Regions from separate parts of the Homo sapiens genome. Here all the other regions are linked to region 1. The links are contacts of gene promoters, found by promoter capture Hi-C in blood cells and fetal thymus (Javierre and others, 2016). All regions are on one chromosome and are shown on one strand. Each heading gives the region's core, a stretch centred on a gene start or on the middle of the fragment in contact. The rest is flanking DNA. Distances are from core to core; before and after follow the strand shown.

The links. Contacts are between HindIII fragments. The CHiCAGO score rates a contact against its expected background, and 5 or more counts as called.
Region 2: a fragment that was not itself captured here is called in contact with the fragment with the promoter of SPATA13-AS1 in region 1 in 2 of 17 cell types (naive CD8 T cells and activated CD4 T cells); the score reaches 6.5 in naive CD8 T cells.
Region 3: a contact is called between a fragment that was not itself captured here and the fragment with the promoter of SPATA13-AS1 in region 1, in 2 of 17 cell types (activated CD4 T cells and total B cells). The highest score is 6.7, in activated CD4 T cells.
Region 4: a contact is called between a fragment that was not itself captured here and the fragment with the promoter of SPATA13-AS1 in region 1, in 1 of 17 cell types (total B cells). The highest score is 5.1, in total B cells.
Region 5: a contact is called between a fragment that was not itself captured here and the fragment with the promoter of SPATA13-AS1 in region 1, in 5 of 17 cell types (M1 macrophages, monocytes, M0 macrophages and 2 more). The highest score is 9.5, in M1 macrophages.
Region 6: a fragment that was not itself captured here is called in contact with the fragment with the promoter of SPATA13-AS1 in region 1 in 1 of 17 cell types (monocytes); the score reaches 7.3 in monocytes.
Region 7: a fragment that was not itself captured here is called in contact with the fragment with the promoter of SPATA13-AS1 in region 1 in 1 of 17 cell types (naive CD8 T cells); the score reaches 6.3 in naive CD8 T cells.

Annotation. Positions count from the first base shown.
Region 1 is chr13:24,252,506-24,256,285 of GRCh38, reverse strand. It overlaps SPATA13-AS1 (SPATA13 antisense RNA 1), which reads left to right and starts at 1,847. Exons shown (of 3, transcript NR_046531.1): 1 at 1,847-1,950; 2 at 3,087-3,207; 3 at 3,330-3,537. All of the region lies in intron 4 of SPATA13 (spermatogenesis associated 13), which reads right to left. The HindIII fragment of the contact is 5,552 bases long and covers 1-3,780 here.
Region 2 is chr13:23,361,666-23,365,445 of GRCh38, reverse strand. It overlaps SACS (sacsin molecular chaperone), which reads left to right. Exons shown (of 10, transcript NM_014363.6): 6 at 169-280. Among named protein-coding and RNA genes, the nearest start is that of SACS-AS1, 55 kb to the left of the region's middle. The HindIII fragment of the contact is 3,544 bases long and covers 1-3,409 here.
Region 3 is chr13:23,386,382-23,390,161 of GRCh38, reverse strand. All of the region lies in intron 2 of SACS (sacsin molecular chaperone), which reads left to right. Among named protein-coding and RNA genes, the nearest start is that of SACS-AS1, 31 kb to the left of the region's middle. The HindIII fragment of the contact is 2,903 bases long and covers 535-3,437 here.
Region 4 is chr13:23,421,659-23,425,438 of GRCh38, reverse strand. The region is part of intron 1 of SACS (sacsin molecular chaperone); the gene reads left to right. The region is part of intron 1 of SACS-AS1 (SACS antisense RNA 1); the gene reads right to left. Among named protein-coding and RNA genes, the nearest start is that of SACS-AS1, 4.6 kb to the right of the region's middle. The HindIII fragment of the contact is 172 bases long and covers 1,986-2,157 here.
Region 5 is chr13:23,459,336-23,463,115 of GRCh38, reverse strand. No RefSeq gene overlaps it. Among named protein-coding and RNA genes, the nearest start is that of LINC00327, 8.3 kb to the left of the region's middle. RefSeq lists enhancers at 1,743-1,912, 2,442-2,491. The HindIII fragment of the contact is 5,614 bases long and covers 1-3,780 here.
Region 6 is chr13:23,571,965-23,575,744 of GRCh38, reverse strand. The region is part of intron 1 of TNFRSF19 (TNF receptor superfamily member 19); the gene reads right to left. Among named protein-coding and RNA genes, the nearest start is that of TNFRSF19, 3.4 kb to the right of the region's middle. RefSeq lists enhancers at 745-894, 1,365-1,534. The HindIII fragment of the contact is 6,515 bases long and covers 1-3,780 here.
Region 7 is chr13:24,925,082-24,928,861 of GRCh38, reverse strand. It overlaps a transcript of CPAP not described here and the pseudogene TPTE2P1. Among named protein-coding and RNA genes, the nearest start is that of CPAP, 4.1 kb to the right of the region's middle. The HindIII fragment of the contact is 5,023 bases long and covers 1-3,780 here.

The sequences.
Region 1 (3,780 bases), core at 598-3,097:
GTGGCACAGTAGGACTTATTCTTCCTGTCTAGCTCTATTTTTATATCCATTTACCAACCTTTGGTTATCAAGATTTTGAGAATACTTGACCAGGGAGGAGAAATATACTTTCATTATTATTTAAAAGTTGATACTACAGAAAATTTCAAATACACACAAAAGCAGATAATACCATGAACCCACGATTATCAGTCTTTTGCCAATATTGTTTCAACTATTTCCCACCAACTTTTTTGGAGTATTTTAAAACAAATCTCACATATCATATTTTATGCAGAAAGTATTTCACTATCTGTGTATAACAAACAAGGACTTAAAAATAACTGCACTATCTTATCCCAACTAACAAAATTAAAAATAATTCCTTCATGTTGCCAAATATTCAGTTCATCTGAAAATCTCCCCAACGTGTCTCAAAATGATGCTTTTACAGCTGGTTTGCTGAGCTCAATTTGTGGGCTTACTGAGCTGGATGCCATTCTAGCACTTCGTTGGTATATAAACCTAAAACCCTCAGTGCATAGAAAGGAAGGAGTTCCAGGACTGGGATGGAAATGCTAGAGATGGTCTATCATGTGAGTCTCACCACCCCTTGGGCTGCATCTCCCATGTGACAGCAGCTTTTATAATTAATGTACTGCTAATCTCTCTAGGCCAGAGATGCTGCTGAGAGATGGTTCCACTGCAATGCAAACCTGGTCCTCCATGGGGGTGGGACATCTGTCATGGGAAAAAGGTGGGCATAGTTACTATACCACACAGCAGGGCCAGCTTGGTCATCTGAATGGTTTGACCTGTGAAATCTCTGGTTGTGCTGTTAACTGATCTCGGGGTCCCCAGGAACAAAACAGATGAGTGATTCCACAAAGGTACCACAACATTGTGTAGGAGGAACTCTCCAGGGCTGGCAAGCAGAGCCCGACCTGAGCCACCATGACAGAGAAGACAAGGGAGGGCCCTCACTCAACTCCCAGACTCAGGCCTCTTGATGGAGCAGAGCCAGGGAGCCTCAGGGTAGGCATCCTACTACAAGTCTTCTTCCTAGCTTCTCAAAGAGAACTCCTACCATCAGCCTGGTGACTGTGTCCTCAGGACAGGGAAACTCCCGGCGGCAAATGTAAGCAATACTCTTCCCAAGCCTTTCTGAGTAGGAGAGATGGCTTTGGCAAGGCAAGGATTTAGCTCGTGCGCACTCCTGGTTAGGAGCTAATGGCCTGGCTGAATGGCCTGGAGGAATGTGGAAAGAACAAGATGGGCTGAGGATGGGTTTGGGGAAGGAGTATAACTGGCTACCTCAGAATACCCGCAGAGCATGAGATGATGTCCATCCTACATGAATCCTTATTGCAAGAGAGGCTAATCAATCATCATGTGGACATGCTGTCCCAATGTGCAGCTAGATGCCAGTCTTCCTTCCTAGTCATCTTGATACTTGCTCAGTGGGTTCATAAAAAGGAAAAAAAAAAAGAAGCAAGCAAGAAAAAGGCCATGGTGGCAAAAATGGATGCCAAGCCTGGGCTAAACCACAGGAAGTCTGGGCCTTCCCCTCAACAAAGCTGATGATACGGTTCCCCGCAGGAACCAGACAGCCCCTTGCGGAAAGCTGATTGCAGTGGGGCCTTTTCATAATAGAGGGGGTGGTGATTTGTCCCTACTGGAAGGGCCACTTATGCTGGGCTTGGATTTGTTTTCCTGCACTCTGTGGATCCTCTAGAAGGCCCCTATCCTGTCGCAGCATCTCACACGCCATCCAGGCCCAGAACGTCACAGAGAAGGAAGCACATGACCCCATCACACCCAATAACAACCAAATAAAAATGAAGTTACAGAGGCAGCTGGGAGACACACCCAGAAGTTGCCATACTGCCCTGGATGGGACGCAAGCTCTGAAGCAGTGACTAATTTGGAGAGGCTGGCCCACAGCAGAAGATGCAGGGCCGGAAACCAAGGGTAAACATAGAAGCGGCTTCTTAGGATTACTTAATAATATACTTGCAAAATGTTTTCTTCCCACCTAGGAACTCTGCTCTGTTGAAACTGAATTTAGTGCCCAAGGGAGAAGTACTTCCTCCAGAGTTCACAGTCCTGGCCACAGTGAATCAGAACCAAGGCTGGCCATTTTTGCCTCTTCGTACCACTGGGAAAATGAGCACCCACGGAAAATGGGGATGGCTTTTGTGGTCACTGCTACCATATTTCTCAAATGGACTAATGCAATCGCCTTCAAATCAATCTCCATTCCTCTTCCTTTCCCCCCACAAACTGCCCTCCCTCTCTAAGCATAAACCGGAACATAATATGCTCCTGCTGCCAATGGCTTCACACCACACTTAGAACAAGCTCAGCCTCCTCATGACCTGCAGAGCCCTTTCCAGCCTCAGCCCACCTCCCAGCCTGCAACATCCTCGTCTGCCTCTTGCTCCCTGAGCTCCTGTCACTGTGGCCTCCTTGCTGAACCTCAGACACATCATGTTTCCTGCCTGTCTTTGGGCTTCTGGTGCTCCTTCGGCTAGGACTTCTCCTCCCTCGGATCTCTGCCTCACTGCCTCCTACTCACCTGTCCCCAGCGTCACCTCCTTGGAGAGGAGGCTATCTCCCCCACCTGCTCCTACTCCTCACATTACCCAAAGTCATCTTCTGCAGGGCCGTCACTGGTGCCTTGGTGCATCCTACATATTGACTTATGGAATCTGTTCAAATGCTGAAATGTAAACTTTGCATGACGTTTTATTCTCCACAGCATCCCAAATTCTCTATTTCCTTCCTTTCCCTGCCTTGCCATTCTGGTAGGGATGTGTTGCTTAAATCTGCCTCTAGTTAATCAACGCTGAAGAGGCACTGCATGGAACTGGAGGACTAGTTATCCTAAGAGGTCCTAGACTTGGAGGTGTCTGCTGCCACTGATGAGGATCTGGGTGTCTCCTTCTAGGGAAGAGAGAGAGGGTTCATGGAACAGGTGCATCCTGTTCATTAGAGTGTCATTAGAATAACACTCTTTGGAAATGAATGCTCTCTATCCTGTTTTATTTTTCTTTATAGTACTGTCTGCTCTGTTAAATACTTACTTGGCCTGTCTTCACATATAGAAGGCAAGGGTCCCTGGAGACAGACACCCCACCCTTCTTCCTGTTCCAGTACCACCAGGTGGTGGACATATCACCTAAGCTCGGACAGCTGAATCTTCCATCCTGGGACCTGAACCCCTGGGTGAGTGACAGAAAGACAGTCACTAACTCCTAATAAGTTAACTCCTTATTATAACTCCTCCCCAAATAAGTATACACTTCTTCAAGATAGGGTCTTTAATTAAATGTTTTGTATTTTCAAAGCGCTCACTGGATACCCAGATAAAGTGCTCACTGGATACCTCACTAGCTCCTGGGACAGTGCCATGGCCAGTCTCCCATCACACACCTTCCGGTGGCTCCTCCACTCCCAGGAGTGAGCCTGGATGCCATCCCTTCCCTAGCCTGGTTCCCCAGCCATCCCATCAATTCTGGGCACACCTGGCCCCCTTCCAATAAATTCCCTTTTTGCTTAAGACAGCCAGAGTTAGGTTTTGTTGCTTTTCGACAAAAGAACGCTAAAATTAAAACATTTTTAACATAACAACAAAAACCAGTGTTACAGAAAGCAGGGAAAGGCTGTGTGTACACAGGTACGGGGTGGGAGGAGAAGTGCTCTACATTCCTACCACCCTAACAATGCTACTGTTATTTCTGCCTGTTCTTTCAAAATCTTCTGCCATATGGGTACACGTTGCATATTGTTACAAACATG
Region 2 (3,780 bases), core at 388-2,887, 890 kb after region 1:
AACAATTACTTTCAGTAGTAGCCTCACCAGATCTTAAAGGTAATGTTGCAAATAGTGGGTTTCCTTTATTTAAGTATATTAACTTCTTAAATATTATAGATAAATACAAAGATGAGCAGTAGATTACTGTGTTATTAATTACTATTTTTTGGTATATTTTTTGGTTAGGAATTAATTCAGAATGCAGAAGATGCTGGGGCGACAGAAGTTAAATTTTTATATGATGAAACTCAATACGGAACAGAGACTCTTTGGTCAAAAGATATGGCGCCATATCAGGGTAAGAATCAATAATTAGGAACAAATTTTATTGTATGCACTAACAGGCAGTTTTTAATGATTAATAATGCTTTGTTTAATGAACAGTCTATCATTTGTACTTTTTGGCATGTTTATGTCCACTTCTTCAGATGTTTTTCTCTGCTTTTGGTGGGAAGGTGTCTCCACCAGTTGGTATTTTTAGAGAACAAAGAATAAAATCTGAAAACTCAAAATGACAAGCAATGTAATGACCAAAGCCTCTTATTCTATTCAAACAACTTGTATTTTATATTATCAGTAGGATAAAGGGACACCATTTATGTATAGTAACACTTTCCTGCATTTGGAAAGATGTTGTGAAAGGCCATGCTTTTGTGTATTTTCCGCTTTAGGAGTACCCTCGACATTGTTTGGAAGTTGGGTGGGAAGAAAGATTGAAGGAGAGGAGAGAACAAGGAAAATGAAAGGAAACATGATAAGAAAGCCATAAACTAATAAATTATTAATCCAATAAGAACCCTAACCAATAGACTCCTAATATCTCACTTCTACTCCGGGGAGCTTTGGTGTCAAAAAGAATGTTCATAAATTGTAGTATACCTCTGGCTGGGTGCGGTGGCTCACGCCTGTAATCCTAGCACTTTGGGAGGCTGAGGTGGGCAGATCACCTGAGGTCAGGAGTTTGGGACCAGCCTGGCGAACGTGGCAAAACCCCGTCTCTACTAAAAATATAAAAATTAGCTGGGCGTGGTGGCAGACGCCTGTAATCCCAGCTACTCAGGAGGCTGAGGCCGGAGAATCGCTTGAACTCGGGAGGCGGAGGTTGTAGTGAGCCGAGATCACATCACTTCAATTTAGTATACCTCTGAAGTCATTGTCAATGACTGTATGTGACAGAAAGTTACTGAGAAAAAGTGGGATCAAGTCAGACCTTCTGAGACACCTTTTTAAAGAGATTTAAGTCATGTATTTTTAAAAAGATGTTTTATGATTTAGGAGGCCAGTTAACATTTAGTTAAATATCTAGCATTTGTTATGTCTCATATAGTCATTCTTAGCTCACATTTGTCACTTGAAAGTTGTACTTTCTATACTCTATAAAAAGAGGTGTGTGGGACATAACATCAGGAGGTGTGCGTTCTAGTCCTGACTGCTGCTACCTTAGTGACTTGGGCCAGTCATCACAGAGGTCAGATCATTTTTATAATAAGAGGATTAGCCTGCAAGGTATCTTGTCTCTAAGAGCCTGTGACTTAATGTAACATTGGATTCAAGAGACTTCAGGTTAAGTCCTAATCCTACACAGTACTACCCCATTGTACTGCCCCCCAGGCACTGTTACACTCAGTGGCAGCTGTGACCCTCACACTGACTTACTGCTTGCCTGCAAGTGGTATGAGAAAATCTTTCTCCCACATAGTTTGAGGATTATATGAGATAATATATGTGATAATGTTTTATACCTGGTATCATACTGATGACGGTATGTGCTGTGGAACTGCTAAGGTAAGAGTGTAAGGAGAGCCTATGATGTTTTTGCTTCTAGCCTTGACTTCACCTTGTTTTAAAAAACATTTGAAACTGGATTATTTTGCGAGTTTATGCATAGGTATATTTAGAGATAGGCTCTTTAAAAGTGGCCAATTTAAAATAAACGTGGGCTGGGTGCGGTGGCTCACACCTGTAATCCCAGCACTTTGGGAGGCCAAGTGGGCAGATCACCTGAGGTCAGGAATTCGAGACCAGCCTGGCCAACATGTTGAAACCTGTCTCTACTAAAAATACAAAAATTAGCCAGGTGTGGTGGCGGGCACCTGTAATCACAGCTACTTGGGAGGCTGAGGCAGGAGAATCGCTTGAACCTGGGAGGCAGAGGTTGCAGTGAGCCAAGACCCCACTATTGCAGTCCAGCCTGGGCAACAAGAGCGAAACTGTGTCTCAAAAATAAATATATAAGTAAGTAAAAAATAAATGTAGGCCAGGTGCGGTGGCTCATGCCTGTAATCCCAGCACTTTGGGAGGCTGAGGTGGACAGATCACCTGAGGTCAGGAATTTGAGACCAGCCTGGCCAACATGGTGAAACCCCATCTCTAATACAAATACAAAAATTATCTGGGCGTGGTGGTGAGCACCTGTAATCCCAGCTACTTGGGAGGCTGAGGCAGGAGAACCCTTGAACCCGGGAGGCAGAGGTTGCAGTGAGCTGAGACTGTGCCATTGCAGTCCAGCCTGGGCAACAAGGGCGAAACTCTGTCTCAAAAATAAATACATACATAAATAAAAAATGAAATAAATGCAGGCTGGGCATGGTGGCTCCTGCCTGTAATCCCAGCACTTTGAGAGGCTGAGGCAGGTGGATCACCTGAGGTCAGGAGTTTGAAACCAGCCTGGTCAACATGGCGAAACCCTGTTTCTACTAAAAATACAAAAATTAGCCGTGCGTGGTGATGCATATCTGTAATCCCAGCTACTCAGGAGGCTGAGGCAGGAGAATCACTTGAACCTGGGAGGTGGAGATTGCAGTGAGCCGAGATCTTGCCACTGCACTCCAGCCTGGGTGACAGAGTGAGACTCCATCTCAAAAAAAAAAAAAAAAAAAAAAGGAATGTATTATATAAAAGCAGGTGGCAGTGATCTCTGATCTCTTTATTTAACAAACATTTATTGAGAGCCCTCCAGGCTCTTGTGTATTTGAGAATATCTTTCTCTTGCATTCAGATGTGAGCAGTCATCTTGTATCATGGCTTTTCCCCTTTACTGGCACTTTGTTTCACAGCCAGAAGCTCTTAAGGTCAACTTATTTTTATTCATTTTTATATAATGAGATAATAAAAGGCTCAGATTGTCAAATCACATGCACAAGAATGAGAGCTCTCACCCAGTATAACACACTTTACTAAGGATTTCAAGGATACAGCTGATTATAAGACACAGGGGAAGGAAGCACGGAGAGTCCCTCTGTGCTGCACTAGGACACACCTTGGCCTGGATCTCACGGAGTTGGTTTCTGAGTGATGCACACAGACCAGCACTTAACAGAGGGAGCTATTTCAGTCATAAAACATGTACATGATTTTCTCTGATAATCAACATAACTTGTGACATTTTCAAGGGGATTATGCCTCTTAAATATATAAATTCCAAGCTTATTTCCAATAAGCAACTTCTGTAAAGTATCCAGTAGCTAAGGACTCTTCCTAGTAAACACCGTGTATGTGCTTGCCTAGAGGTCTGTCATCAGCATGTTAACAAGGAGATTTGGCTGGGTCATCTCTTTCTTTCTTGGGTATTCCCTGGGGAAAGGGGGAAATAGACTGCAGGCCTGCTCCCAGCTCTTTCCTTCCCAGACAACCTTTTAATTTTTCTCTCAGGATGTTTATTCCTTTTTTTTTTTTCCTTCTTTTTCGAAACGGAGTTTTGTTCTTGTTGCCCAGGCTGGAGTAAAGTGGCGTGATCTTGGCTGTCTGCAGCCTCTGCCTCCTGGGTTCAAGGGATTCTCCTGCCTTAGCCTCCTGAAT
Region 3 (3,780 bases), core at 737-3,236, 870 kb after region 1:
TTTCAGAGCCAAACACAGTTTGAAGCCTACAGAAGCTCCTAGACCAAGTAAAATAGGTTCTATAGAAATAATAAATTCTATACCCTGTAGAAAGAATAACTTTTAAACCCTTGTAGAGTGAATAGAAAAAAAACCAAATCCATTGAAAATTTGTAGAAAATATAAAACTCCATAATTGTAGGAAATATAAATATCAGAAAAGCTGCATAAAAGTGGTCGCATATTATTGTGACTTCTGGCATATGTAGATGCAGCCAAATAACTTGACATTTTGATGTAAAATTAAAATGCTCCCTTGTCCATCCCCCAACTCCCTGCAAAAAGAAGCAAAAAGCAGAAAGAGTAGAACTGATCCTTCTCACAGTAGAAGAAAATGATGGCTAAATGCAGAATACAAAAAGAACAGATTTTAGACATTGTAATTTGTTCTTTTATCTGCATAGAGGATGGAAGCAAATGTGTCCTTCAAAGAGAATCATGTACTACGTATCCCTTGTACACGTATTCCGTCCTTTTTTTAAATTAGAGAAAGCTTAGCTCAGACTTTCAGCTGAGACACAGAATAAGATCTTTCTAAATTCGGAGGTTGAAGTTTGGCAAGTAGAGCACATGTACTTTGCAGATACCATATTAAGTAAAATTAGTAACGTGGATGTAAAGACGACTTTCTAAGTGTTTGCCTTTTCCAGTGACCCTGGTCAGTGGGCAGAAATAAATCATCTTTATATCCACATGTTACTAATATATATATATTTTTTTACAATTCTGAATTTTATTTTGTAGTCATGCTGATTAGTAGACATTCAGTTCCTAGTTATAAAACCAACTCTAAAATTGCATTAATAAGTATTGGGCAACTTAATAAAGCTGTAACCTTTCACATCATTTCAGGAGCACAGTAACTATTTAAAGCCTTCCTGTAACTTAAAGACACAGGCTATATATATACACAGGCTATATACACACACACACATACACACATATATATATACACACACATATATGTTTTAGCTAAATGGTAGAGGGTACTAAGGAGTAATTAACAGATGGGTGTGTCTTTGGTAATTGACACATACAAGTTTCCATTTAAAATCTTATTAATAAATATATAAAGAATGTAAGACATTCAGCTCCATGCCTTGTCCATAGAAAACTCATGTTATGTATTTTTTGAATACATGGATTAAAATTTGGTATTTGCAAATGATACTTTCTTTTGGTTTCTGATTCTTTGGTATTTTATCACCCTGAAATACTATATTAAATTTATTTATTTATTTTTAATAGTTTTAGGGATACAAGTGGTTTTTGGTTACTTGGATAAACTGTGTAGTGGTGAAGTCTGAAATTTTAGTGCACTCATCACCTGAGTAGCGCACGTTATACCCAATATGTAGTTTTTTATCCCTCAACCCCCTCCCACCCTCCCTGCTTCTGAGTCTCCAGTGTCCACTGTACCACTCTGTATGCTTTTGTGTACCCATGGCTTAGCTCCTACTTATAAGTGAGAACATGCTATATTTGGTTTTCCACTCCTGAGTTACTTCGCTTTGAATTAATGACCTCCAGTTCCATCCAAATTTGCTGCAAAAGACATTATTTTATTTGTTTGTTTTTTTAATGGCTGAGTAGTAGCCTGTGGTATGTGTGTGTATATATATATATATATATATACACACACACCATATTTTTATATTTTATATATATTTTATATTATATGTACCATATATATATATATACACACACACCATTTTTTAAATCCACTCATTGGTTGATGGGGACTTCGATTGGTTCCATATCTTTTGTTTTTTCTTTTTTTTTTTTTTTTGAGACAAAGTCTCGCTCTGTCACCCACGCTGGAGTGCAGTGGCGCAATCTCGGCTCACTGCAAACTCCGCCTGCCCGGTTCACGACATTCTCCTGCCTCAGCCTCCCAAAGTGCTGGGATTACAGGTGTGAGCCACCGCTCCCGGCCCATATCTTTGCAATTGTGAATTGTGCTGTGATAAACATATGTGTGCAGGTGTCTTTTTGATATAATGACGTCTCTTCTTTTGGGTGGATACCCCGTAGCAGGATTGCTGGATTGAATGGCAGATCTACTTTTAGTTCTTTAAAGAATCTCCATACTGTTTTCCGTAGAGGTTGTACTAATTTACATTCCCATCAGCAGTGTGTAAGTGTTCCTTTTCACCGCATACATGCCAACATCTATTGTTTTTTGACATTTTAATAATGGCCTTTCTGGCTGGGGTACAGTGGTGTCTCATTGTGGTTTTAATATGCATTTCTCTGATGATTACACACATTATTACTTAATAGTACCTCACCGCCATATTCTCTGGATCCATAGATCATGTTGTAATAAAAAAGTTTAAGGGACAGATTAAGTTGCAAGTTCCTGCTAAGGAACTGAATTCTCTGCACCATGCTGTCCATTGGGTAAACTCCTGATATCACAGAAGCTGCATCACCTGAACTCAAACCACCACCCTACACAGGTGAATGGCAACTTCCCAGATAAATGGTTTAAAAACCAGCCGTCTATGAGGACCAAAAAGAAACGGTCAGGGTGACCAGGGGACCAGCTTATCTCTACAGGGTCTTCCAGCTTCGTAGTGAAAGTGAAGCCCTTAGAATGGCAAGTCCAGGAATACCTTATTTCATTCACAGACTTTTTTTTTTTTTTTTTTTTTTTCTGAGACGGAGTCTTGCTCTGTCGCCCAGGCTGGAGTGCAGTGGCACGATCTCTGCTCACTGCAAGCTCCGCCTCCCGGGTTCACGCCATTCTCCTGCTTCAGCCTCCTGAGTAGCTGGGACTACAGTTGCCCGCCGCCATGCCCGGCTAATTTTTTTTGTGTTTTTTAGTAGAGACTGGGTTTCACTGTGTTAGCCAGGATGGTCTTGATCTCCTGACCTCGTGATCTGCCTTCCTCGGCCTCCCAAAGTGCTGGGATTACAGGCGTGAGCCACCGCGCCCGGCCGACATTCGTTTTTAACAAATCGAAGGTTTGCAGCAGTCCTGCATCCAGCAAGTCTGTTGGCACCATTTTCCCAACAGCAAGTGCTCCGTTAGCGTGTCTCTGTGTCGCATTTTGGAAATTCTCATAATATTTTAAACATTTTCATTGTTATTATATCTGCTTTGGTGATCTGTGATTACTAATCTATGGTGTCACTATTGTAATTGTTTTGGGGTGCCACGAACTGTGCCCAAATAAGACAGTAAACTTAATCGATAAACGGTATGTTCTCTCACTGCTCTACCAACAGGCTGTTCTTGCCTCTCTCCCTCTCCTCCAGCCTCTCTTTTCCCTAAGACACAACAGTATTGAAATTAGGCCAACTAGTAACCCTATAATGGCCTCTAACTCTTCAAGTGAAAGGAAGAGTTGCAAGTCTCTCACCTGAAATCAAAAGCTAGAAATGACTAAGCTTAGTGAGGAAGGCAGGTTGAAAGCCAAGACAGGAAAGCCAGGCCTCTTGTGACAAACAGTCAAGTTGTGAATGCAAAGGAAGTGTTTTTGAAGGAAATTAAATAGTGCTATTCCAGTGAATACAGAAACTATAAGAAAGCAAAACAGCCTTATTACTGATTAGGAATCAATTTGAGTGGTCTGGATAGAAGATCAAACCAGCCATAACATCCCCTTAAGCCAAAGCCTAACCCAAACAAAGGTCTAACTCTCTCCAAATCTGTGAAAGCTGAGAAAGGTGAGGAAGCTGCAGAAGAATTTGAAGCTACCAGAGGTTGGTTCATGAGGTTTAAGGAATAAAGCC
Region 4 (3,780 bases), core at 822-3,321, 830 kb after region 1:
GCCCTAGTCAAGTGGACTCCAGTCCCTGCATAAACATCAGGTCCCAGTTTGGCACATAGGCCCCAGGTGGACACCAGGCCCCTGGTGGATGCCCAGGTTAATACCAGGCCCCAGGTGGACACAAGGTCCCAGGTACATTCAGGTCCCGGGTGGAAACCAGGCCCCAGATGGACATCGGGCATCTGTATGTCAGGTCCCAGGTGGACACATAGGCCCCAAGTGGATGTCTAGTCCCCAGGTAAATACCAGGGCCAAGGTGAACAGGAGGCCCCAGGTGGACACCCTGACCCCAGAGGACCATCCAGCTCGAGGTGGACGTCAGGCCCCAAGTGGACACCAGTGTCCAGATGGACATCAGGCCCCAGGTAGACACTCGACTTGAGGTGTACACCAAGCACCAGGCTCACGCCCAGGCCCCCGATGGATACAATGAAACAACAGGTTCCATTCAGTGATATAATAAAGCACATCCCAAAGCTCCTTCACCCATATCTTCATGATAATTAACTGAGCTGGATAGTCACATGTTCATATATAGGCCTAATAACCTCAGAAATGTAATTGTTTAGATTCTACAAAACCTGTGTTTGGACTTGTTTAATGGAAACTCAGGTTCCATTCAGTGATTTAAAACAGCACATCACAAAGCTTCTTTGTACATAGCTTGGTTTTCGTTATTAGTACTGGACGTTCATATGTTGATATATAGGCCTGATAGCCCCTGAAATGTCATATCTGAGATTCTACAAAACATGTGTTTGGAACTTGCTTCATGGAAACACAGGTTCCATTCATTTATATAAAACAGCACATCAGAAAGTTTCTCCTCACATAGCTTGTTTTTCATTATTAGGGCTGAAAATCTATGTAGGTACAATAGTCTCTGAAATCTCATTTCCTTTTTTTTTTTTTTGAGACAGAGTTTCCCACTTGTTGCCCAGGCTGGAGGGCAGTGGCGTGATCTCGGCTCGCTGCAACCTCCGCCTCCCGGGTTCAAGTGATTCTCCTGCCTCAGCCTCCCAAGTAGTTGGGATTACAGGCATGCGCCACCATGCCCGGCTAATTTTGTATTTTTAGTAGAGCCGGGGTTTTTCCATGTTAGCCAGGCTGCTCTCGAACTCCCGACCTCAGGTGATCTGCCCGCTTTGGCCTCCCAAAGTTCTGGGATTATAGGCGTGAGCCACCATGCCCGGCCTGAAATCTCCTTTCTTAGATTCTCCAAAACATATGTTTGGAAATTGTATAATGGAGATTCCAGTTGCATTCAGTGATATAATAAAGCACATCAGAAAGCTTCTTCACACATAGCTTGTTTCTAGTTATTAGTAGTGGATATGTGTATATTCATATATAAACCCAATAACCTCTGAAATGTCATTTTTGTAGATTCTACAAAACATGTTTGAAACTTGTTTCATAAAAACACAGGTTCCATTCAGTGATATAAAACAGCACATCACAAAGCTGTTTTTAGTTATTAGGGATGGATACTCGTATATTCATATATAGGATAATATCCTCTGAAATGTCATTGCTTAGGTTCTAAAAAATGAGTGCTTGTAACTTGTTTAACAAAAACACTGGTTCTTCTCATTCATATGAAATAGTACATCCCAAAGCTCAAAGCTTCTTCACACATAGCTTGCTTTTAGTTATTAAGGCTCCGTATTTTTATATATAGGCCTAATAGTTTATATATAGGCCTAATAGCTTCTGAAATCTCATTAATTAGATTCCACAAAATGTGTGTTTGGAACTTGTTTAATGAAAACTCACGTCCCATTCAGCGATATAATAAAGCACATCACAAATGTTCTTTGCACATAGCTGTTTCTAGTTATTAGGGCTGGATATTAGTAGGTTCATATAGAGGCCTAATAATCTCTGCAATGTCATTACTTAGATTCTACAATACGTCCTTTTGGAACTTGTTTAACAGAAATGCTTGTTCCATTCAGTGATATAAAACAGTGCATCCTAAAGCTTCTTCGCACATAGATTGTTTTTTGTTATTAGTGATAGATAGTTGTATATTCATACATAGGCCTAATAGCCTATGGAATGTCATTCCTTAGGTTCTAAAAAATGTGTGTTTGGAACTAGTTTAATAAAAACACAGGTTCCATTCAGTGATGTGAGACAGCACATCACAAAGCTTCTTCACAGATTGTTTCTAGTTATTAGGGATGGATATTCGTATATTCATATATAGACCTAATAGCCTCTGAAATGTCATTCCCTGGGTTCTAAAGAACGTCTGCTTGGAAGTTGTTTAATAAAAACACAGGTTCCATTCATTGATATAAAACAGCAAATCACAAAGCTTCTGCTCACATAGCTTGTTTTTAGTTATTAAGGCTGGATTTTCATATGTTTATATATAGGCCTGATTGCCTCTGAAATCTCATTAAATAGGTTCTACAAAACGTGTTTTTACAACTTGTTTAATGGAAACTCACATTTCATTCAGTGATATAATAAAGCACATCACAAATGTTCTTCGCACATAGCTTTTTTCCAGTTAATAGGTCTGGATATTCATATGTTCATATATAGGCCTAACAATGTCTGAAATGTCATTGGTTAGATTCTACAAAACATGTTTCTAGTATGTGTTTAACAGAAACACAGGTTTCTTTCAGTTATATGAAACACCAAAGGCTGAGGCAGGAGAATGGCGTGAACCCAGGAGGCAGAGCTTGCAGTGAGCCGAGATCGTGCCACTGCACTCCAGCCTGGGCGACAGAGTGAGACTCCGTCTCAAAAAAAAAAAAAAGAAACACCACATCACAAAGCATCTTTGCACACAGACTGTTTTAGTTATTAGAGATGGATATTCAAATATTCACATAAGACCTAATAGCCTCTGGAATGTCATTCCTTAGGTTTTATAAAACGTGTGTTTGGAACTTGTTTAATAAAAACACAGGTTCCATTCATTCAGTGATCTGAAATACCACATAACAAAGCTTCTTCATGCACAGATTGTTTTTAGTTATTAAGGATGAATATTTGTATATTCACATGTGGGCCTAACAGCCTCTGAAATGTCATTCCTTAGGTTGTATAAAACGATAAAATGTGTGTTTGGAACTTCTTTAATAAAAACACAGGTTACATTCAGTGATATAATAAAGCACATCACAAAGCTTCTTCTCACATGGCTTGTTTTTAGTTATTGGGCTGAATTTTCATGTTTATATATAGGCCTCTGAAATCTCATTTGTTAGATTCTATAAAATGTGTTAGGAACTTGTTTAATGAAAAGTTACGTTCCATTCAACAATATAATAAGGTACATCACAAAGCTCCTTTGCACATAACTTTTTTCTAGTTAGTAGCATGTTCATATATAGGCCTAATAACCTCTCAAACGTTGTTACTTAGATACTTAGATAATACACCATAGGTGGACGCCCAGGCCGTAGGTAAATACTAGGCCCCAGGTGGAAACCAGGCCCCAGATGGATATCAGGCATCTCGGTGCATGTCTGTTCCCAAGTTGACACATGGGCCCCCGTTGAACACCAGGCCCCACTTAAACTTCAGGCCTCAAGTGGATGTCCAGGCCCCAGGTAAATACCAGGGCCACAGTGGACAGGAAGCCCCAGGTAGACTACAGGCCCCAGGTGGATGCCTAGGCCCCTGGTGAACACCACGCTCCAGGTAGATACCCTGACCCCAGGGCAACATCCAGTTCCCAGTGGACATCAGGCCGCAGGTGGATGCCCAGTTCCCATGTGGACATCAGTCCCCAGGTCAACATCAGGCCCCAGGTGG
Region 5 (3,780 bases), core at 421-2,920, 790 kb after region 1:
AGAAGAAAAGGTGGAAAGAATAAAGTTTAAAAAAAATGTTAAGATAGCATTTTAAGGTACTTAACTGGAATGTTTAAAAGGGGAGACCAGTAACCTTCTATTTTCAGTTCCTTGTTTTTCTTGTAGCTTTGCCTAGGATGGCTACAGTAATGCTTACATAAATCAAAAAAATGTGCTCTAAAAGAGAAATTTAACTGAACAAAATCTCATTAGTAATGATAATTCAGCAGATTTTTTTTTTGAGAGTTTACTATGGGCTAAGGTTTCTCTAAGTATCAGTTCTTTTCATTCCAACTGCAATTAGATGAGGTGGCATTATTGTAATTTCTGTCTTACAAGTGAGTAAATCGAAGTATAAACATTCCAGGGTCCTACAGCTAATAAGCCTCCTTGGAGTCTCTGGGTCTAAAGCCTGTGATTGTAATCATTACCTATATTGCTATCTGGGCACAACGCAGCTACTAGTATCTGCAGTGGTAGAGATCTGAGGTCCTACATGCTCCAAAGTTGAGTTCATTTCTACATTTAGTGTCAAAATGACGAAGTGGTTTCCAAAATTGGAAAATGAGTTTCCATTCCCTCTTCTAATTAGAATTTTTAAAATGTTTTCTTTGTTTTGTTTTTCAATTTCCAAATTTTGTTTTTCAGAGGAAGTAATGCCTTATCTTTCATTTCACTTAGCTAGCTCAAGGAGAGGACTGAATTCTTTTTTTGGAATACGCAATGACCTGAATATGCAGTGTAAGAGTCAGTAGCAACAAGTGCAAGTCAGTGAAACAATTAGTTTCATAAACACAAAACATGGCCTGGCCAGCAAGGGAGGGCCTGAGTGCAGTCTTTAGCACGTCCACACACCACAGGGCAAGATGTTGGACCAACCCTATTTTTACCTAAGACCGGGAGGAGAGCAAATATCTCCTGAAACTGGCTAATTTTCCAAGCCAGGAGCTTTATACAGTCTAAACGACCATGTGAAGTTAGCATTTTTACCTTCATTTTGTGACAAGCAAAGTGTGGTTCAGAGAGATTAAGGAGACAACCGTAGGTCAGTGCTGGAGCCCAGATGTGAACCCACATTTGTCTGGCTATCTCCAAATCTCATGTTCTTTTTATTTATATCACACTGACTGCTTTTCGGTGAGTGATATCCCACTAAGAATTGAGACTGATTCTCAACTCCCCCAAAGCCATGTGCCAGGCTCTCCTGGAATGTGGTCAGCATTCGATGGGTGGGAATGAGGTGCCCAGGATTGAAGGTGCTGCTGTCAGGGAGGACCCCAGCTGCACTCACAGCTGTGTGACTTGGGTATGTTCCTCAGGCCATGTGTTCACCATTGTGCTCATCATAAAATAGGGATTATATCATCTGACTCATAGAGTGAAGGGGATTAAATGAGATAGTTCATACCACATGCTTAAGACAGGGCGTTGCAAATAGTAAGTGCTCAATAAAAGTCAGCAATTATTAATTTATTATAACTAACTGGTCTGGTTAGACTGCTGATTGAATTATGAATTTGGAAAGCTGTTCCATGAGGGTTACAGAACAGCCCTATCCTATTCAACGGCTTAAAAGGGACTTGAGTATGTGTATGGCATACATACTCTTTACATTTAGGATGATGGTAGCTTGGATGGTAGGGTCAGATACCCAAAGCCTGGGAATCTGGAGTAGTATGCAGCTAGACTGTGTATAGATGCCTTAAAAAATCCACCATCAACTCAGTGGCTTAAACCAGCACTCATTATTGTCAGCTGATCTCAGCTCTAGGCTGGGGCACTTGAGCTGGGGCACCTGTGCTCCATGTGTCTCTCAGCCTCCTCTCAGGGCACAGCGGCCATCCCAGACACAGCCTTCTCATGGTGATGGCGGAAGCATATGCATCCAAGTCCAGTCATGGAAACACTGTTCAGGGGTGTATGATCTCATAACTCTTAACTTTCCATTGGCCAAAGCAAGTCACATGGCCATGGTGAAGGCTGGAGAATGACACCACCCTGCAGAGTGAGGGCTCTGCAAAGCTAAGCAGGACAGAGTGCACGGAAGAACTGGGACCATTCGTGCAGTATAATATAGGCTGGATTCAAGCAGGTGGATACATTTAAGATTTTTTGTTTTTGTTGCTTATGTCCAAATTTTATCCCAAGAAGACAAGCCTAAGCAACAGCAACTGTAGGAAGGAAGTGGTTGACGCTATGTTTCCTAATAGGTAAGGAGACCATGCAATTGTCATCCAAACTAGGACATTCAAGAGTAAAACAAGAGCATCATTAACAATTCAGCCAGGACAACAGGCATATTGGAGACTGTCCTGGGCAAAGTGAGACCTGCGATCACCTAATGTGTAGCTTAACATATTGCTATGGACATCATGTGCTCAGGCTGAATTACTGGGTGTATAACACTAGAGGATGAAGAAGACAGTTGTGCTCTCCTTAGTGCTGGGCTGGCCATACCTAAAGTATTGTCTTTATATTCGAGTTTTCAAACTAACTGCTCTGTTTAGAAGAGAGGTGAGGGTGCTGTGGGGTGTAGAAACTTTGTCAAATGACTCTTGATGCAAGGAACAGAGCATATTTGTGAGAAATAGGAAATGCTTATGGGACACTTGACATCTGTGGTCAACTATATGAAAGTCTGTTGCAGAAAAGAGGAATTAGACATGCTTGGTATTATTGCACAGGATAGACCTTAGACCAATGGTTCTAAAAAAAGAATATTGAAATCTGAATCAGAAAAATTATATCTTATTTCTACTTACCAGCTGTGTGACTGGCTAAGCCATGCAACTTCTCTGAGCCTCAATTTCCTCATTTGGAAAGAAGCAATAATGTAAATAAATAACTCAGTCTTGCTGTGAGGATTAAATGAGATTGTGTTCGTATTATCCAGGGTTCTCCAGAGAAACAGAACTGATAGGATATATGTGTGTGTGTGTGTGTGTGTGTGTGTGTGTGTGTGTGTGTGTGTGTCTATACATATATGTAAAAGAGGGGATTTGGCTCATATAATTATGGAGGCCAAAAAGGCCCATTATCTGTCATGTGCAAGCTGGTGAACCAGGAAAAATGTGGTGTGAATCAGTCTGTGCCTGATAGCCTGAGAGCTGGGGGAGCCAATGATGTAACGCTCTGTCTGAAGGTGAAGGCCTGGGAATGGGGCGGGGGTGGGGGCTCTGCTAGTGTATGTCCCAGGGTCCAAAGGCTCAAGAGCCAGGAGCTCTGATGTCCAAGGGCAGGAGAAGATGGATGTCCCAGTTCAAGGATGGAGAGGGGAAATTGAGAGAGAGAGAGAAAGAGAGAGAGAAGGGGAGGGTGGGAGAAAGAAAGAAAGAAAGGGAGGAAGAGGGAGGGAGGGAGAGAGAGGGAGGAGAGAGAGAGAGAGAGAGAGAGAGAAAGATTCTCACTTCTTACTTCTTTGGCCTTTCTGTTGTATCTGAGCTCTCAACAGATTGGATGATACCTTGGTGACAGCAGATATTCTTTACCCAGTTTACTGATTCAAATACTAATCTTTTCCAGAAACACCCTCACAGACACACACGCACACAGAAATAATATTAGACTGGGCATTCTTAGCCTGTTCAAGTTGACACATAAAATTAACCATCACCATGTGTGTGACTGTACTTTGCAAATTATAAAGTGGTGTATAATTTTAGTACGGTAATATGGGCATCAGATTCCTGTCCAATTTAAGAAAATGGTCTCGAGAGTCGGGATGGCTGCCTTAGGAAGTAATGAGACCATTTAAGTTGATTGGAGAACACTGAGAATCTC
Region 6 (3,780 bases), core at 345-2,844, 680 kb after region 1:
TGGAATAGAATGCAAGCTACAGGAGAATATGAAATTTTGTCTCTTTGGTTTACAGTTTCTGGCACATAGTAAGTTCTCATTAAAAATTTGTTGGATGAATTAGTAATTGAGAGTGAGAATCTCAAAGAGTAATAAAGTTTTCCAAATACAGTTAAGAAAATAAGTGGAGGAGGAACCCCCAAGACCTAGCTATTTAAGTAATTCCCGATACCCACTACTGCCAATTATAGACTATCAGCATGGGGCTGAGGGAGCACCGTGAGGCCAATGCCCAGTGACTTCCTGAATGCTGCACACCAAGTTAATTAACAAAGCTGGAATCAGAATCTGGGCTTTCTGTATCTTAACATAATCTTCACCATACCATGGGTGCGTAAACCAATATATATGAAAAACCCAAGGAGGCTATTTTTATAGCCCCCTCCTGTAAGTGGAGCTCAAGACACTTACAGAGCAAAGTTGTTACAAGTTGCAGCACTTGCACTGATCTTTGTGAGTTTGGCCCTGAGTACCTCATTGGCTAGACCCTTTTCATGAGTTCGATGAGGGAAGAGACAGTCCATTGACTCTCCTTCTCTCCTTCCTGATGAACATGGTGGACTCCCCGACCTAGGGCTGGCTTGAGGCCAGGCTGGCTGGGCAGCAGCCCATGGTGCTAAGCTATAGAGCCACCAAAGAATGGGGGGCATTTAACAGGATGGAGAAAACTATCTTTATCAGAACTCCTCTCAAAGACAGTGGGTTATGTTGGAAGGAATGGTTTTATGAAGTCATTGGAAACCCCCACATGACTTCTCCTTCCCCTTCTCATCAAAGAGAAAATTTAAGTCACAAAGGAGGGTTTTAAACTACCTACTTAATCTAAAGAAGTGAGTATTGATTTTGGCAAGTGGGTGGGTTTGAGGTAACAACTTTGGAGCCAAAGCTGAATGACTAGTGACAGTAGAGGAGAAATTAAAGCACAGCCAACACAGCCACCAGGGAGCCTCCCTCTGCCCTCCCATCACAGAGCTCACCCAGGTGGACAACGTTTTAAAGAACCATCCTTTAAAGGGGACAAAATCACTCATTCTTCCAGGGTGGCTTGGACTGGCCTTGCCATCACAGAAAGAGAATCCGACTAAACCAATGCCAGATGGTTGAGTTCAGTTCACTCCTGAAGCAGAGGGAGAACAGATTATGCCTTCATGGCTTAGGGAGGTCCTTTATGGCCATCCTGACAGAAAATACTATTAAAAATGTCTAATAGTTCTTACAAAATATATAAAAGGAAAAAAAAAAACTGGAGCCCATATTTTTGGCCAAAATTTTGGCTATAATGTTTGCTGACAGTCAAGTTCAGCTTTGTGTAATTCTTAAAAAGAATGAATCACCTAGCCCCAGAACAAAAAAAATGTAGATCACAATGCTGCCACTGAATTATTCCTATAATCTTGCACATGTTATTTATCCTTGCACAAGTACTTGATATTGAATTAATTGATAATGAGTGAATTAATAAATATTAGGTCATGTTAGTAATAATCTTGTATATGTAGGAATCCTAAAGAGGGTGATAAGCCCTATTATGAGGGCAGTTGTTTGGCCATGAGAGTCCTGTATTTGTATAAAATTTTATTAGTAACTAAATTAAAATTTTTCACACAAGATATAGATAGATAGATTTTTTTTTTTTTTTTTTTTGAGACAGAGTCTCACTCTGTCACCCAGGCTGGAGTGCAGTGGCGCCATCTCGGCTCACTGAAAGCTCTGCCTCCCGGGTTCACACCATTTTTCTGCCTCAGCCTCCCAAGTAGCTGGGACTACAGGCGCCTGCCACCTTGTCCGGCTAATTTTTTGTATTTTTAGTAGAGATGGGGTTTCACCATGTTAGCCAGGATGGTCTCGATCTCCTGACCTCGTGATCCGTCTGCCTCGGCCTCCCAAAGTGCTGGGATTACAGGCGTGAGCCACCGCTCCTGGCCCCAAGATATATTTTTTCAAGGAAGAAAAGCAAAGAGATAATGAAAACATGCTCAAGAGTCTTAACATAATCAAACATGATATGAAACACATATCATATCATGTTTGAAATGCACATTGAGTTTGTCAACTGAAGTTTCACAGAATCCCACTGGGAATTTCCCTGGAGGAAAATTAACCTTTAATTATTAAACTGTTTTTGGATGCCACTGGCATCATCTAAGAAAATATCAATTCCTTCAAAACACACAAATATGTGTTGATATAATGCCAAACTCGTATGTACACACACACACAGAGGCAAACACACAAATACATATATAATTCCACATCACATTGATGCATTAAACTTTTTGTGAAAATTATTTTACGTGTTAAATTATGTTAAATTATGGGTAGCAGCTACTGTGTTTAGACAGCTTAGAAGTCCAGAAGTAGAAGGAACAGTTGGAAAATAATCAGACGAATCCAGCTGACTGACATATCTATCATGGAAACAAAAAAAAAATGCACTACAATAGGAAGTGGCTGTCTTTATTTTTCAAACTAATATTGTTCTTTGATGAGCTACAGAGTGCATTTGTTTAAGCAGTTGTTGGAAAGCAGACCCTGCATGGTAGACTGGAAAGAACATTGGACTAGAACTGGGAAAATCAGCCATGTGACCTTGTTAAGATAGGGACATTCGTTTTCTATAGCCTCAGTTTCCTCATCTGTAAAATGGCCATAAAAATTCCAATTCTGCTTATTTCATAAAGATGATGTGATCAACTCCCTCACTTCACACATGAGGAAACTCTCTTGAGGTCATATAGCTAATTGGTGACAGTATCAGGACTCAACATAAAAGTCTTTTGAAGACTTGGACTTTCTGTAGTAACAAAGCTGCCATTGAAGCAACAGATAGGAAAGTGCTTTGAAAAATGTCACATAAGGGTTTTGTTCAGTAGAAGTAATAGGACTATATCTGCCAAAGTCATTTTGTGGCAATTAATTAGGAAATGCCTTTTGAGACTGTACCTGTACCTTCAGATACAACCATCTTTATTTTAAAATCAAATACACTCTATTTCATTTCTCAACAATGACACTAGAAGTAAACAATTAACTGAATTAATTCAAACACTGAAGTGGATTTTCAAGGACTTGACTTGCCCAAGCTAGTTTTCTACAAAGCCTAAATTAATCAGATAATTGCTAATTCTCCCCTTTGTTTTGTGCTGAGGAGAGCCTGTATTTGTTAAAATGATCCTAGTAGCAGGATAAACAGTCATTTTAAAAATTTTAAAATCCAAATCTGAACTAAATGAGCAAGTTTCAGACACACTATTTCTTTAGGCACCATCTCCAGTCATTGTTTTAAAAGGCTAATTTTCTTTATCTGAATGTGAACATTAATACCACTTTTGTGATTAAAAGGAAGATTTTAAGCAAACAAATTAAAAAAAAATCAAACTAAACCGATATTGCAGGATATTGTGAACATGATTTGTTGTACTCTTAGAAAAAAAAAGCAAATGCCTCTCCTGGCATGACTAAAAACAGCAGTTAAATCTTTAAGATTAAGTTATTAATGACACACTTTAAAAATATAATCAGTTTAGCATGGCTTTAAATAACCTCCACTTAACAACTAGCAAAGTTTTAAAATTAAATAAACAATGCTAATTACCCTTCTAGTATCAAGAGGAAAGTGTAGAAAGTAATTTAATTAATTGGCTGTGAAAAATTAATTACTTATGAAATGAGACTCATTAGACCTTTCCTGTTTCATCAGAATTTCAGACTAAAGGATAACTGGTCTTATCACTTATGGTT
Region 7 (3,780 bases), core at 583-3,082, 670 kb before region 1:
TACAGACCCATTAGGTTTCCAGGATCTTTTGTTGTAAGTCCAATACACCAGCAATAGATTTAACTATATCAAAATGCCAAGATTAAAAAAAGTCTCTTTGCACCCAACATTGTTGTTAGAATCTTCTTTACTGGCCAGGTGTGGTGGCTCACGCATGTAATCCCAGCACTTTGGGAGGCCGAGGTGGGCAGATCACCTGAGGTCAGGAATTCGAGACCAGCCTGACCAACATGGAGAAATCCTATCTCTACTAAAAATACAAAATTAGCCAGGCATAGTGGTGTGTGCCTGTAGTCCTAGCTACTCAGGAGGCTGAGGCAGGAGAATCACTTGAACTCGGGAGGTGGAGGCTGCAGTGAGCCAAGATCACGCCACTGGACACCAGCCTGGGCAACAAGAGTGAAACTCCGTCTCAAAAATAAGAAACTTCTTTACTGAAGTAATTCTAGAAATCTGTTTCAGGCCTTGGTGAAGAACTCCTTCACTCTTCCTGCAGGTAAAGGAGGGTGTGGTTTTTCTTGGGTTTGTCTAGAGGCCAGACACATGCATCTCCCCAACCTGCTGGAGTTCCCCTTTCTAGCCCGGATCACCTGGGCTTGGGGATCTGCCAGGTCTGTCCTGCAGACTCTGGCTGAGCAACAGATGAAAGGAGTACTCAGACACAGGTATGCAGTGTTTAAGAGCAGCTAGAGGACTGCTGGGCACTAGTGGCTGAAGAGTGAGTAGTCTTGAACAGCTGGAGCTGCCTGTTTTTATTCAGTACAGACATAATGCTGAAAGCCTGGAGAAAACACAATCTGCAGGTAATTAACATTATTGTTCCCCCTTCAGGGAAGGGGTCACGTGTGTGAATGATCAACGGTCAGCTCCTGGTCAACATAAGTAAACAAGCCTGTTGTTAGTATTCGATTTAACCTTCTGAGGTCTTACTGACTGGGATGTTAGTATATATCCAAGATATTTCCAAGGAGAGGACATCTGTACCTTTTCAGGTGCTATGATTAAGCCTGTTAACTGTGTATTCTTTTTGACAGAGGCATATAAATTCAAAAGTATTGGCTCCGTTGGGGCTGCCAGTAAGATGTCATCCATATAATGGATTATCTTGCAATTAGGAAATTCTTTTCTACTGGGGAGCAAAGCCTTATTTACACGATACTGACACATGGTAGGACTGTTCAGCATTCCTTGGGGAAGTACTTTCCAGTGAAATCAGGGAGCTGGGCCTTCATTATTGATAGCTGGTATTGTAAACGTAAATTTTTCTCTGTCCTGTTTTGCAAGGAGAATAGTATGAAAGCAGTCTTTTAAGTCAATAATGACTCAAAACTCGAGGAATCACTGCGGGGGGAAGGGAGCCCCTGTGGAAGGGGCCCCATAGGTTGCAAATTAGCATTGATAGCCTGTAAGTCATGCAGAACTCTCCATTTACCAGACTTTATGGGAATGACAAAAAATGGGTGAATTCCAAGGGCTGTCTGCTGGTTCTATATGGCTGGCTTTTAATTGTTCCTCAATTAATTCATGGGTTTGTTGTAATTTCTCTCCCTTTAAAGGTCACCGTTCTACCCAAATTGGATCTTGAGACAGCCATGTCAGGGGTAGGGGAGGACTTACAACAGTGGCCACTATTAGAAAGGGCTCTGCATAGTGACCCCCCCATTGGGCTAATAAGGTCCCATTCCCAAAGATGAACAGGGATGGGCATGATTAGAGGTTGTATAGTTGCTTTTCTTCCCTCCAAATCGTGACTTTAGAGGGCGTGCACTCTGCTTGGCTGTGTGCACTTCTCCAGTGCCGACAATTTTCTGTTTCTGAGTGACCCATATGTTTTACCCAGCCAATTGATTCTGGTTGGTTTGTCATTCACACAACTCATCATATTCTGCCATCCAGAGGAGGTATTGACTGGCCTCTAAAGTTGTTTGAGCTAGCACTGACCTGTCCCATGGGATCATAAGGAAGTTGTCTGCTATGGCCTCAATTAATCCTTTTGTAGATGGGCTAGCAGCTCTGTTTTCTCTAATGCTTTTTCTTATCTCTTTATAGGTGTTGAAAGTGATGGGCTCATATACCTGATTGCCGTGTTGATCTTGCATCACAGGGCAGGCCAAGAGCTCCCCTTCTAATGCCACTTGCCTAAGACAGGGTCCCGTAACTGTAGTGTATCCCTTGTCTTTTTTTCCAATTTATTGGAGGAGGGGGCTCAGGGAAACTCTGTCTCCTCTGTGGCACCTTTACCTAGTAACAGTGGGGCTGAGGGAGGAGGAGGCGGTCAGGTAGGTGGATGGTTCCTCTTCCCTTTCCTTTTTAGGCTCTTTTGTGTAGAGTGGGGCCAAAGCAGCCCTGATTAAGGCCCATAACGTTAAAGATGTTACTGGGACCCGTTTCCCTTGTGCATGATGTTATTTAAGATTTCCCCTCACTTGCTCCCAGAGTTCTTGGTCTAACGTGCCTTCTTCTGGGAACCATGGGTTATTGAAAACAACAGTTTGCATTAGGCCCCTTAACTGAGCCTCCGAGACCCAGGCTCTGCTAGCTTTAAGCAGCTGTTTCAATACTTACATATAGTGTTGCTGTTGAGCTGATAACTGTTGTCCCATGATGAAACCCTAGGTTGAAAATTCCCTCAAACTTGGAAATCCTGAGTGGGCACCAATTACTTACTTCCCGCACAGTCTCTTCACCTCATTTTTGGGGGTTCCATCGTGATCTGTTGCAGCATTCCTCACACAGGGCACCAGTTGCTGGGTCTGTCCCACAGACCCTGGCTGGACGATGGATGAAACGAGTACTCAGACGCAGATATGCAGTGTAAGAGCAGCTAGGGGACTGCTTGGCACTAGCGGCCAAAGAGTGAGCAGGCAAACAGCTGGAGCTGCTTGCTTTTATTCAGTATAGACATAATGCTGAAAGCCTGGAGCAAAAACAATCTGTGGGTAATTAACATTATTGTTCCCCTTTCAGGGAACGGGTCACGCATGTGGATGATCAAAGGTCAGCTCCTGGTCAATGTAAGTAAACAAGCCTATTTACGATAAATTCCCCTATGCTTCCTGGTACCTACTCCTTGCCCTCTGCCTCAGGGTCAGAAAACAGCTGCCTTCAGCTTATTCTCCCTGGAGGCTATGCAGAGGCTTCCGACTTTTCAGAAGGTCTGCTCCTTTCCCTATAGTTTCTCCCACCACTCTGACTGATCTATAGGAATCATTCCTTGGCCAGGCTAGCCCTGATGTCCTCCCCCACTTTTTTTCTTTTTAAGAGTTGGCGGTTTCACTCTGTTGCCCTGGCTGTAGTCTCGTGGTGTGATCATAACCTTCAACTCCTGGGCTGAAGTGATCCTCCTGCCTCAGCCTCCCAAGTATGTAGGGCTACAGGTGCACACCATCATACCTGGCTAACGTTCAAACGTCTAGGCTCAAATTATCCGCTTCAGTCTCCCAAAGTGCTGGGATTACAGGTGTGAGCCACTGCACCTGACATGTCCTCTCTGGATAGAGTGGACACTTGCTACCATCAGACCAGCAATGAAAAGCTGTCAACTCTTTGTCACTCAGATCAACTTTGATTAAAAGAATTATTACCAGCCAAGCACAGTGGCTCATGCCTGTAATTCCAGCACTTTCAGAGGCCAAGGTGAGAGGACTGCTTGAGCCTACGAGTTAGAGACCAGCCTGGGCAACAGAGTGAGACCCCTGTCTCCAAAAAAATAAATAATGAAAAAGAATTATTTCCAAATAATTTGGGAATACAATAAGTATTATTCTGTGTCTGGCACAG